2 separate regions of the Homo sapiens genome follow, and region 1 is linked to region 2. Evidence: promoter capture Hi-C in human tissues and cell types (Jung and others, 2019). All regions are on one chromosome and are shown on one strand. Each heading gives the region's core, a stretch centred on a gene start or on the middle of the fragment in contact. The rest is flanking DNA. Distances are from core to core; before and after follow the strand shown. Region 1 overlaps SPNS2 (SPNS lysolipid transporter 2, sphingosine-1-phosphate). Region 2 holds the start of GP1BA (glycoprotein Ib platelet subunit alpha).

Region 1 (4,732 bases), core at 1,936-4,435, 410 kb after region 2:
AAGAGAAAGAGGGAGGGAGGAAGGAGGAAAAGAGAGAGGTGAAAGAGAGGCGAGAGGGCCAGGCAGAGCTCCCCTGAACCTGGCTGGAGGAGTGACTGCCCCTCTTTTATGCCAGCAAGAACAGGCCAGTGAGTGCGCGTGGGTGGTGGGTGTACGAGCAGACCTGTTAATTCCAGAGGCCTTGGGGAGAATCAGCATGCGGGTGCACAAATCCGGGCATGAGGCACACTCCCTGGGCTCAAATTCACCTCCGCTCCTTCCCAGCCGGTGACCTCAGTCAGGCCACAGCCATTCTGTGTCTCACCTTCAGTGGTGTGCTGATATATGTTTAACTGGCTCTGATAAAGGGTGAGGGGAGCCCTGATGTGGCGTGTTTGCTCATTTCTTTTTTTTCTGAGATGGAGTTTCGCTCTGTCGCCCAGGCTGGAGTGCAGTGGCACCGTCTCAGCTCACTGCAATCTCTGCCTCCCGGGTTCAAGCGATTCTCTTGCCTCGGCCTCCCAAGTAGCTGGGATTATAGGCATCTGCCACCACGCCCGGCTAATTTTTGAATGTTTAGTAGAGACAAGGTTTTGCCATGTTGGCCAGGCTGGTCTCAAACACCTGATCTCAGGTGATCCTCCTGCCTCGGCCTCCCAAAGTGCTGGGATTACAGGGGTGAGCCACCGTGCCCGGCCGTGTTTGCCCATTTCTGTGGTGTAAACACTCCGCCCTGGCTGAGTTCAAGCTACCCACGTCGTGTCACTGATGGGCGTTGGAAAGGGATGTGCGGGGACACGCCATTGTCCAGTGTTTCTACCACACAAATAGAACAGACGCCACTCACCATAGGACCACAGATAACGCTGAAACACAGCAAAATAATTAGGAAGTGAGGACTTTTGAGTAGTTATTACCTTGTTTCTAATTATTTAATTGTAAGCCGATATCATTTAGTTTTTAACAATGGTTGTATTTTACGACTAGCTCACACACCATTCCTGAAATGTTAACAATTGACTCTCATGAGCTGGCCTGAGCCAGCGCCAACATGCCAGCATCCTCATCTGTAAAATGAAGATAAAAATAGCAGCTCTCCAGGGTGGGTCTGGGTGCTGGATAGCACGTGCAAGGTGCTTAATGCCACACCCTGCCCAGAGCAGGCCGGCCTTGGTCAACACTGGGCCCTTGTTTAAATTAGTCAAGGCAGAAATTATTTCCTCACATTTAGAAAAAGAATTTTTCCTGCTGGGCCTGCCTCCAAGGACCTGCCTGAGATCAGATCAGAATGTGGCAGGAGGGAGATTTCCAGTTGCATCAGGACTGACACATGTTGGGGGAGGAGGAGGAATTGTTCTCCCTGTGCCTGTCTGTGCTAGGTGGCAAGTGGACAGAAGGAATCAGAAGAGAAGTTTCCCCCTGTCTGGCCAGGGGCAGATCTTGTTCATAGGTTGCTCTGTTTAAAGGACAACCTATGTTGGGGAACCACCAAGGAGCTCCAGATCCTGCCAGGATAATGAAGAGAGGCTTCCCGGAGGCGGTGGTGACAAAGCTGGGCACTGAAGCATGCATAGGAGTTTACCGCTAAGATAATACTTAACATCAAGAATATACGCTGAAATATAAACTTCAGATCAGCAATATTGTATAATGGTTCACGAGGCATGATGCTTAGTGTTCATGATAACTGCAGTTATTATTTATGGATATATAGGCAAGGCCCAGCATGCAGCCTTGACATATGCACAGATGATCTCTTTTGATTCTGTTCTCTTCATTTTACAGAGGAGACAATGGAGGCCAAAAGAAGTGATGTCACACAGCGAGTGTGCGGCTGAGCCAGAATTTAAATCCCAGTTTGGCAGACTCCAGAGTCCTTGCTCTAAATCACTCCCCAGACTGCCATGCTGGGAAGGGGGAAGGTCCCAGCTGATGTTCCCAAGGTCAGGGAAAGTTCAGGGCCTGCTGAGGACAGCAAGGAGACAGGTCAGGCCATGGCCTGAGGATGCTCAAGAGGAAGCAGCGAGAGATGAGGCTGTGGAGGGAGGACTGGGCTAAAGACCAGGACAGGGTTTGGTGTTTAGAAGGCGGCAGAGAACCACAGCGCGCTCTCTCCACCCCGCCCCCCAACACCATGGTAGGATCCTTGAAAAAGCCCCCTCCCGGGGGGGTGACGAGGGACTGGAGGGACGTGACCCAGACCTTCGCCAGACCCCGGCCATCATGCTCCATTCTCTCCTCTTGCCCACAGTGGAGCAGGAAGCACGGGCCCTTCTTAGCTCTTTCAACCCCTCCCTGGTTTCTGGCTCCTCACTTAGATGGGCAGAAGTCCCCAGGACTGCAGGTGGACTCCTGGCAGAAGCTGGCACGCCCCGTCCCCACCCACCGGCCCCAGCCTGATGAACTTGCCCAAGCACCTACGTGCCCTTAGCTCACCTGATCCTCCCCACGTCCATCCCTATCTAACAGCTGAGGTCACTGAGGCCCCAAGAGGTGGAGGAAGTTGCCCGAGATGACAGACCAAATTAGGAAGGCACAGTCTGGACCAGCCTGCCCCTCAGTGTCTTCCCTTGGGACATGGCAGTCCAGGGTCAGGAGGGAGGTGGGATCCATCACTGCTGCCCTCTCTCTGCTCAGGACAGACAGGAGGGAGGACCCCGCCTGGCCCCCTGGAGGTCACAGGCCATGGAGGGGCCTGAACACAATCAGGGTAGGGACGGGGAGGGGGCTGAGAGAATGTTCCTGGCAGAAGGGACAGGATAGGCGAAGCCTTGCCCATGTGGACTGTGTCCGATGGGGACACAGAGGCCAGCAGGCAACTCTGCTGAGAATAAAGACCAGCCTGGGCTGGGCCTCCAAGCTAGAAGCTTCCCCTGCCCACCACCCCGCAATCCCGTGGTCTTTGTTTGTTTGAGGAGAGCTTTCTGGGCAGACTGGCAGCCCCACCCCTGGTTTTGGTAGGGGCGGCTTTCCCAGCAGTTCCCGCAGGGACATCCTGTGGAGGGTGTGCTGAGCCCACAGGTCTAGGACAATGGAGAGGCAGGGCAGGGAGCCAGGGCCGAGCGGGCAGGGCCGTGACAGCAGGGAGGGAGGGGTCAGACCAGCCCGCCTGCCTCGGGGTCTTGGGCCAGGGCCTCACTCCCTCCTCCTCGCCAGGCTGGCAGGAGGCCGTCAGAAAGCCAGTGCTGTCCACCTCTCACGGCAGCCCAGAGCTCAGAACCCCCACGGGCCCTCGGTGTCCTGGTGGGCAGCCCCAGGACCCCTGTCCATGGTGAGCGGAGCCATCCCCATGGCACACATGGCCTGTATGACCCCAGAAAGCAGTTTTGGAGCAGGAAAGGGCAAGTCTGAGCTTGAGGGAGCCCTGAGCCCCCGCCCTGTGGCCTTGGAGCCTGCATTCAGCCCTTGCTTCGGCCTGGGCTGAGCCACGGCTATTTTTACATGGCTGATCTGTTATTTGGAGAAGACCTACCATCCTCCACATCCTGTGGGCAGGGAGGGTGCTCAGGCAGGCATGGGTGGGGCGGGGGCCAGGCTCTGCCATCCAAGGGACGGCCTGGGCTGGCCAAGCTGACGGAGAATGCTCAGGACAGATGGCCCCATCAGCGCCTGAAAGCTCACCACGCTCAGACTTCCCGGTGGAAGGACGGGAACACCTGCTCTGTGATCCCCTACTCAGGATGTAAACCTTGTGTTGGGCTCTCAGGCCTCAGGGTGAATGAGGTTTTGGGGCCACTCCTTGAAAAGGAGGGCTTTGGGGAACAGCCGCAGGGGCTGCCCGGCTGTGCCTTCAGAACCCAAGTCTGCTGAAGCAGGAGTCGCTGGGCTGGCCAAAGACGGGAGGGGAGAACAGGCAGAAGGAGACTTACCCCCAAAACAGAGGCACTGTCTGGTTTCGGTTTGAGCTGGCTCTTCCTCTGTCCCCACTCTCCCTCCGTTCCCCCATCCCCATCCTGGCACTTCCTCGTGAGCCTACAAACCCCGGCCCTGAGTAGCCTTCAGCTTCCTCTGCTGCCCCTTCCCACACTTGGTCCCAGAATGAATATCCTGAGACACACATCTTTTTTGTTTGTTTGTTTTTGTTTTGTTTTTGAGACGGAGTCTCGCTCTGTCGCCCAGGCTGGAGTGCAGTGGCGCGATCTCGGCTCACTGCAAGCTCCGCCTCCTGGGTTCATGCCATTCCCCTGCCTCAGTCTCCCGAGTAGCGGGATTACAGGCACCCGCCACCACACCCGGCTAATTTTTTGTATTTTTAGCAGAGACGGGGTTTCACCATGTTAGCCAGGATGGTCTCGATCTCCTGACCTCGTGATCCACCCGCCTCAGCCTCCCAAAGTGCTGGGATTACAGGCGTGAGCCACCGCGCCCGGCCCGAGACACACATTTTACACGGACTGCCCTGTTCCAAAACCTTCTCTGGCTCCCTACTGCCCCAAGACAAAACCTACATGCCTTATCTTGGCCTTCAAGCCTTTCACACTCAGACCCTGCCCACTGTCCAGCCTCTTCTCCTTCTGTTCTCCCCATACGCCAACCCATGGCCAATGGGCCACAGGCCACTCGAGTCAGGCAGTGCCACAAACAGCCTTCGTTCTCCCTCACCCTTCCCTGTGTTGCATTGACGCTGATTTCCTCAGATCTAGCTTCTAATTCACTTTTCTTTTCAACTAGGTGTAGTCTACTCATTAACTCACCTAATTATTCCATTTTTTATTTTAATACATATTTTTCACTTCTGGTATTTTCGAATATT
Region 2 (5,143 bases), core at 1,364-3,863:
ATCACTTTCCAGATTTTCTTCTGTGCATAGATGCATGTGGGAACCATGCTGTATTCTGCCAAAATGGTTCACCGTGAGATCTGGCAGCGCCCCATGCAGCATCGGGAGCTTTGTCTTGTCCCCCCGCCAAGTCCATGTCATTACCCCTTCTGCTTTGGCTGGGACTGAAATTGTGTGCCTGTGTTGTGAAGACAGGGCTTCTGATACAGAAAAAGGAACTAAGACCCCTCCCTATCACCCTGTGTTCCTTACCCCTCCAACCCCCAACTAGATTCCAATAGGAGAGCCCACAGGCTCTTCTCTCAAGGTCCCCAAACCTCCCACCCTCAGAGGCTGTGGCCAGAGTACCTAATGCTCACTGTGCTCAGCAGGTCCTGACCACGACCCTGACTCAGAGCTGAGGGCCTCCTTCCTGCCACTAGAGGCCCCACACGGCCATTAGGCCGTACCCACAGGAAGAGGCTGGAGCGGAAAGTGGGAAGCGAACCTCGAAGGAAGAGCAGCCAGGCCCGGGGCACTGTCACTTGCCGTCCCCTCTGCAGCTCCAGGTGTGTGGTTTGTGTGGCTGTGGTCAGAGCAGCACCTTGGCCAGAGTCCAGGGCCTGTGGTTTCACATGCCCAACCCAGCTCAGCAGCAGGATGAGGACCACAGAGGCAAAGAGCAGCCAGAAGAGACCCAAGACATAGAAGCCCAGGGGGAGGAGGCAGCAAAAGTCGGGGTGGAGAAAAGGGTCATTTCTGGAGCTCTCCAAATGCCCTTGGAGCACCCCACGGAGCTTTGGTGGCTGATCAAGTTCAGGGATGGTTTTTTTGGTGGATTCTAAGAGTGATACGGGTTTTGTGGTAGTTAAAAATGTGCTTTTTGGAGTGATCAGGCTTGTGGCAGACACCAGGATGGTCGGGCTTGTGGCGATGGTCGGGATTGGGGTGGGCTCCGGGGTGGTCGGGCTGGGGGCGGGCTCTGAGGTGGGCTCTGGGGTGGTCGGGCTGGGGGCGGGCTCTGAGGTGGGCTCCGGGGTGGTCGGGCTGGGGGCGGGCTCTGAGGTGGGCTCTGGGGTGGTCGGGCTTGGAGTGGGCTCCAGGGTGGTCATGTTTGGGGCGGGCTCCGGGACGGGCTCTGAGGTGGTCGGGCTTGGGGTTGGTTCAGTAGTGGATTTTGGAGTTTTGGAGAATGTGATGGATTCCATGTGAAGTGTGAAATTTGGGGTCCATCTAGGTGGGAATGTGGTCTGCTCCTTAGTGGATTCTTGTGTTGGATGCAAGGAGGAGGGCATTTGGCTGTCTAGAGAAGCAGTGGACCATGAGTAGAATAGACCCCAGGGGGTTGTATGGGCTTTGGTGGGGAACTTGACCACAGTCCTTGTGGCACGCACCTTATCGCCCTCAGTGTCCTCTTCTGGGTAGTAATCATATAGGTCTGTGTCACCTTCATCACCAAGGGTGGGGCACCCCTTTCCTGGGTATTTGTAGACGGGAAACTTGTCTGAATTGTCACACTGCACACTGGCCACGTTAGAGGTCATGGCCTTGACGTCCACACCTTGCTTCCATACGTAGACATTTTCAGCATTGTCCTGCAGCCAGCGACGAAAATAGAGGATCTCACAGTTGCATAACCAGGGGTTCCCGTGGAGAAAAGCAAAAGGCAGGAGGTGGGACCCAAAAAAGCCCTTTGGTATTGTATACAGCGAGTTCTCTTGGAGGAGAAGGGTGTCGAGATTCTCCAGCCCATTCAGGAGCCCAGCGGGGAGCTCAGTCAAGTTGTTGTTAGCCAGACTGAGCTTCTCCAGCTTGGGTGTGGGCGTCAGGAGCCCTGGGGGCAGGGTCTTCAGCTCATTGCCTTTCAGGTAGAGCTCTTGGAGTTCGCCAAGACCACGCAGGGCACCAAGAGGCAGCGAGGTCAGCCGGTTGAAGGAGACGTCCAGGACGGTGAGAGCAGGCAGTGTCTGCCCTAGCAAGGGCAGGCTTTGCAGCTGATTGTGGGATAGATCCAGGGTCCCCAGCACTGGCAGCGTCCCATCGACCTGGAGCTTGGTGAGCTCGCACCTATCTAGGTTCAGCTGAGTGAGGCGAGTGTAAGGCATCAGGGTTGCCAGGGAGAAGGTGTACAGGAGGTTCTCACTCAGGTGGAGGATGGTTGTGTCTTTCGGCAGGTCTGGAGGCAGCGCTGTCAGATTCCTCTTGTCACAGTTCACTTCTAGGTGGCTGGCCACTTTGGAGACCTCACAGATGGGGTGGGGGTGTAAGGGGCTTGGCAGCAGGAGCAGCAAGAGGAGGAGAGGCATGAGGACCTGTGGGCAAGGGAGCCTTGAGTGGATCCCCCTGCATCCCCTGGAAGCATCCCCCCAGGCCCCAGCCCCCTTCCCCCTGCAGCTTCGCTTCCAGAAACAGCATCCACACCTCCTGTCCTCCCTACTCCCATCTCCCACCCTTGCCTGCAGAACTTAAAACTACTAGCTCCAGGTCCTTGGCTCTTTCCCCTCCCTCAGACCCCTCTCCTGCCCCAGCACCAACCCCGGCTTACAGGCAGGCAGAAAGACCTCCGAAGGCACAGAGCGTCTTCTAGGGTGCCACTCGACTCCGTCCTTCTCTCTTCTAGCCCCATGGAGGACTAAGCCAGTGGCAAGGAAGGGGATGGGGGTGAGGAGGAAATGCAGGCCTGATAGGGATTCCAGTGACCGGGAATCCCCTGGACACAAGCCCTTATCGCCTCACTCCACGGCTTTCCCCCAGGCCCTCTTTGTGGTTCTCTCTTCCGCTTTCCTTTTACACAGGGGAGATGGGGGTGGACTCCTCCAAACAGCCTTCTGCCATCTTTTAAAAACCTCTCCAGGGCCGGGCGCGTGGCTCATGCCTGTAATCCCAGAACTTTGGGAGGCTGAGGCGGGCGGATCACCTGAAGTCAGGAGTTCGAGACCAGCCTGACCAACACGGGGAAACCCTGTCTCTACTAAAAATACATTAGCCAGGCGTGGTGGCGCATGCCTGTAATCCCAGCTACTCGGGAGGCTGAGGCAGGAGAATCGCTTGAAACCGGGAGGTGGAAAGAGGTTGCGGTGAGCCGAGATCGTGCCATTGTACTCCAGCCTGGGTGACAAGAGCAAAACTCCATCTTAAAAACAAAAAAACCTCTCCAGATGCCCGCTTCTCTTCCTCTTCACAGCTGCATTCTGAGAGTTGCCTACTTTTAATTCTCTCCCACCTTTCTCTCTGCCTTCTCACCCCAGTCTATGCTGATTTCTTTCCCCTGCTACTCCATTGACTCGGTTCTTACCAAGGTCTTTAATGCTCTCCCTCCTCTACATCCATGGGAAACTTCTCCACTGTGATCTTACTTTATTTCGGCAGCCTGCATACCCATGGCCACTCGCCCCTTGGGATTCTCCTTTTGGCCTCTGTGACACATGACCCTGTAATTTTCTTGGTTTTCTTCTTACCTGTTTGGTTGGGCCTTCTCAGTCTCCTTCATAGATTCCCCTTCTTGAACAATTAAACTGCCCCCAGAGTTTGTGCTTAGGCTGTCTTCATTCCCAGCTAATTTTTATATTTTTAGTAGAGACGGGGTTTCACCATGTTGGTCAGCCTGGTCTCGAACTCCTCATCTCAAGTGATCCACCCACATTGGCTTCCCGAAGTGCTGGGATTAGAGGCATGAGCCACCGCGCCCGGCATTCTCTTCTTTTCTTACGCTATGCAACCACCTGAGATTATCCTCATCCATTCCCTTGCCTTCAACCACCACCTACAACCTAATGACTCTCAAATCTATGTCTCTAGTCCAGACCCTTCTCCTGAGACACAAGCACATATGTCCAGCTGCCTTCTGGACATCTCTACTTGGATGTCCCACAGACACCAAAACAATATGTTCAAAGCTGAACTCACCATCTCTCTCCAAATGGCTTCTCCTCCTGTGTTGCTCAGCCTGGTGAGTGGCACCATCATCCACTCATTTACCTAACCATTCAGTCAACACAAACAAAATCCCTAATAGTCATCTCTAACGTCTCCCGTCTTTCATCCCCATCACCAAGTCCTGGTGATTTTATCTCCCGTCTCTCTCAAATCTACTCTCCATCCACACCATCCTGCCAGCATTCCTAGTCCAAGGTTGTTGTTGTTTCTTGTTCATATCCTCCTCCTCCTCTTCTTCTTCCTCCTCTTCCTCCTTTCTTCTTCTTCTTCTTTTTTTTTTTTTTTTTTTTTGAGATGGAGTCTTGCCCTGTCTCCCAGGCTGGAGTGCAATGGCTCCATCTCGGCTCACTGCCACCTCTGCCTCCTGGGTTCAAGCAATTCTCCTGCCTCAGCCTCCTGAGTAGCTGGGATTACAGGCACCCGCCATCATGCCCGGCTAATTTTTCATATCTTTAGTAGAGACGGGGTTTTACCATGTTGTCCAGGCTGGTCTCCTTTGCTCTGTCTCCCAGGCTGGAGTGCAGTGGCGCAATCATGCCTCACTCAAGGACAAACTCCTGGACCCAAGGGATCCTCCTGCTTCAGCCTCCCAAGGAGTTGGGACTACAGGCATGCACCACCACACCTGGCTGATTTAAAAATTTTTTTCTAGAGACAGAAAAACATTTGTTTGTTGCCTAGGCTGGTCTCAAACTCCTGGGCTCAAGCGATCCTCCCACCTCGGCCTCCCAAAGTGCTAGGAGTACAGGCGTGAGCCACCATGCCCTGCCCAGGGCACCATCTTCTCGCTACTGCTTCCCTGCAACAGCCTCCTTGCTGGTCTCCCAACTTCCCAATTCCCTTTCTTCTCTTTATTCTCCACTGGAGTGGTCTTTCAGAACTGCACATTTGCTCATATCCTTCCACTGCTTGAAATCCACCAATGGGCCAGGCACAGTGGCTCACACCTGTAATCCTAGCAGTTTGGGAGGCCGAGGCGGGTGGATCACCTGAGGTCAGGGGTTTGAGACCAGCCTGGCCAACATGGTGAAAACCCATCTCTACTAAATATACAAAAAATTAGCCAGACGTGGTGGCCGGCACCTGTAATCCCAGCTACTAGGGAGGCTGAGGCAGGAGAACAGCTTGAGCCCCAGGGGGCATAGGTTGCAGTGAGCTGAGATCACACCCCCTCACTCCAGCCTGGGCGAAAGAGCGAAATTCTGTCTCTAAATAAATAAATAAATTC

What was found. Contacts are between HindIII fragments. The study calls those that stand out against the background at their distance.
Region 1: a contact is called between a fragment that was not itself captured here and the fragment with the promoter of GP1BA in region 2, in 1 of the 25 tissues and cell types used here (dorsolateral prefrontal cortex).

What each region holds. Positions count from the first base shown.
Region 1 is chr17:4,517,862-4,522,593 of GRCh38, reverse strand. The region is part of intron 2 of SPNS2 (SPNS lysolipid transporter 2, sphingosine-1-phosphate); the gene reads right to left. Among named protein-coding and RNA genes, the nearest start is that of SPNS2, 21 kb to the right of the region's middle. The HindIII fragment of the contact is 4,831 bases long and covers 770-4,732 here.
Region 2 is chr17:4,929,747-4,934,889 of GRCh38, reverse strand. It overlaps GP1BA (glycoprotein Ib platelet subunit alpha), which reads right to left and starts at 2,613. Exons shown (of 2, transcript NM_000173.7): 1 at 2,525-2,613; 2 at 1-2,291. The coding sequence starts at 2,285. The coding sequence ends at 327. RefSeq lists an enhancer at 348-567. The HindIII fragment of the contact is 8,753 bases long and covers 1-2,632 here.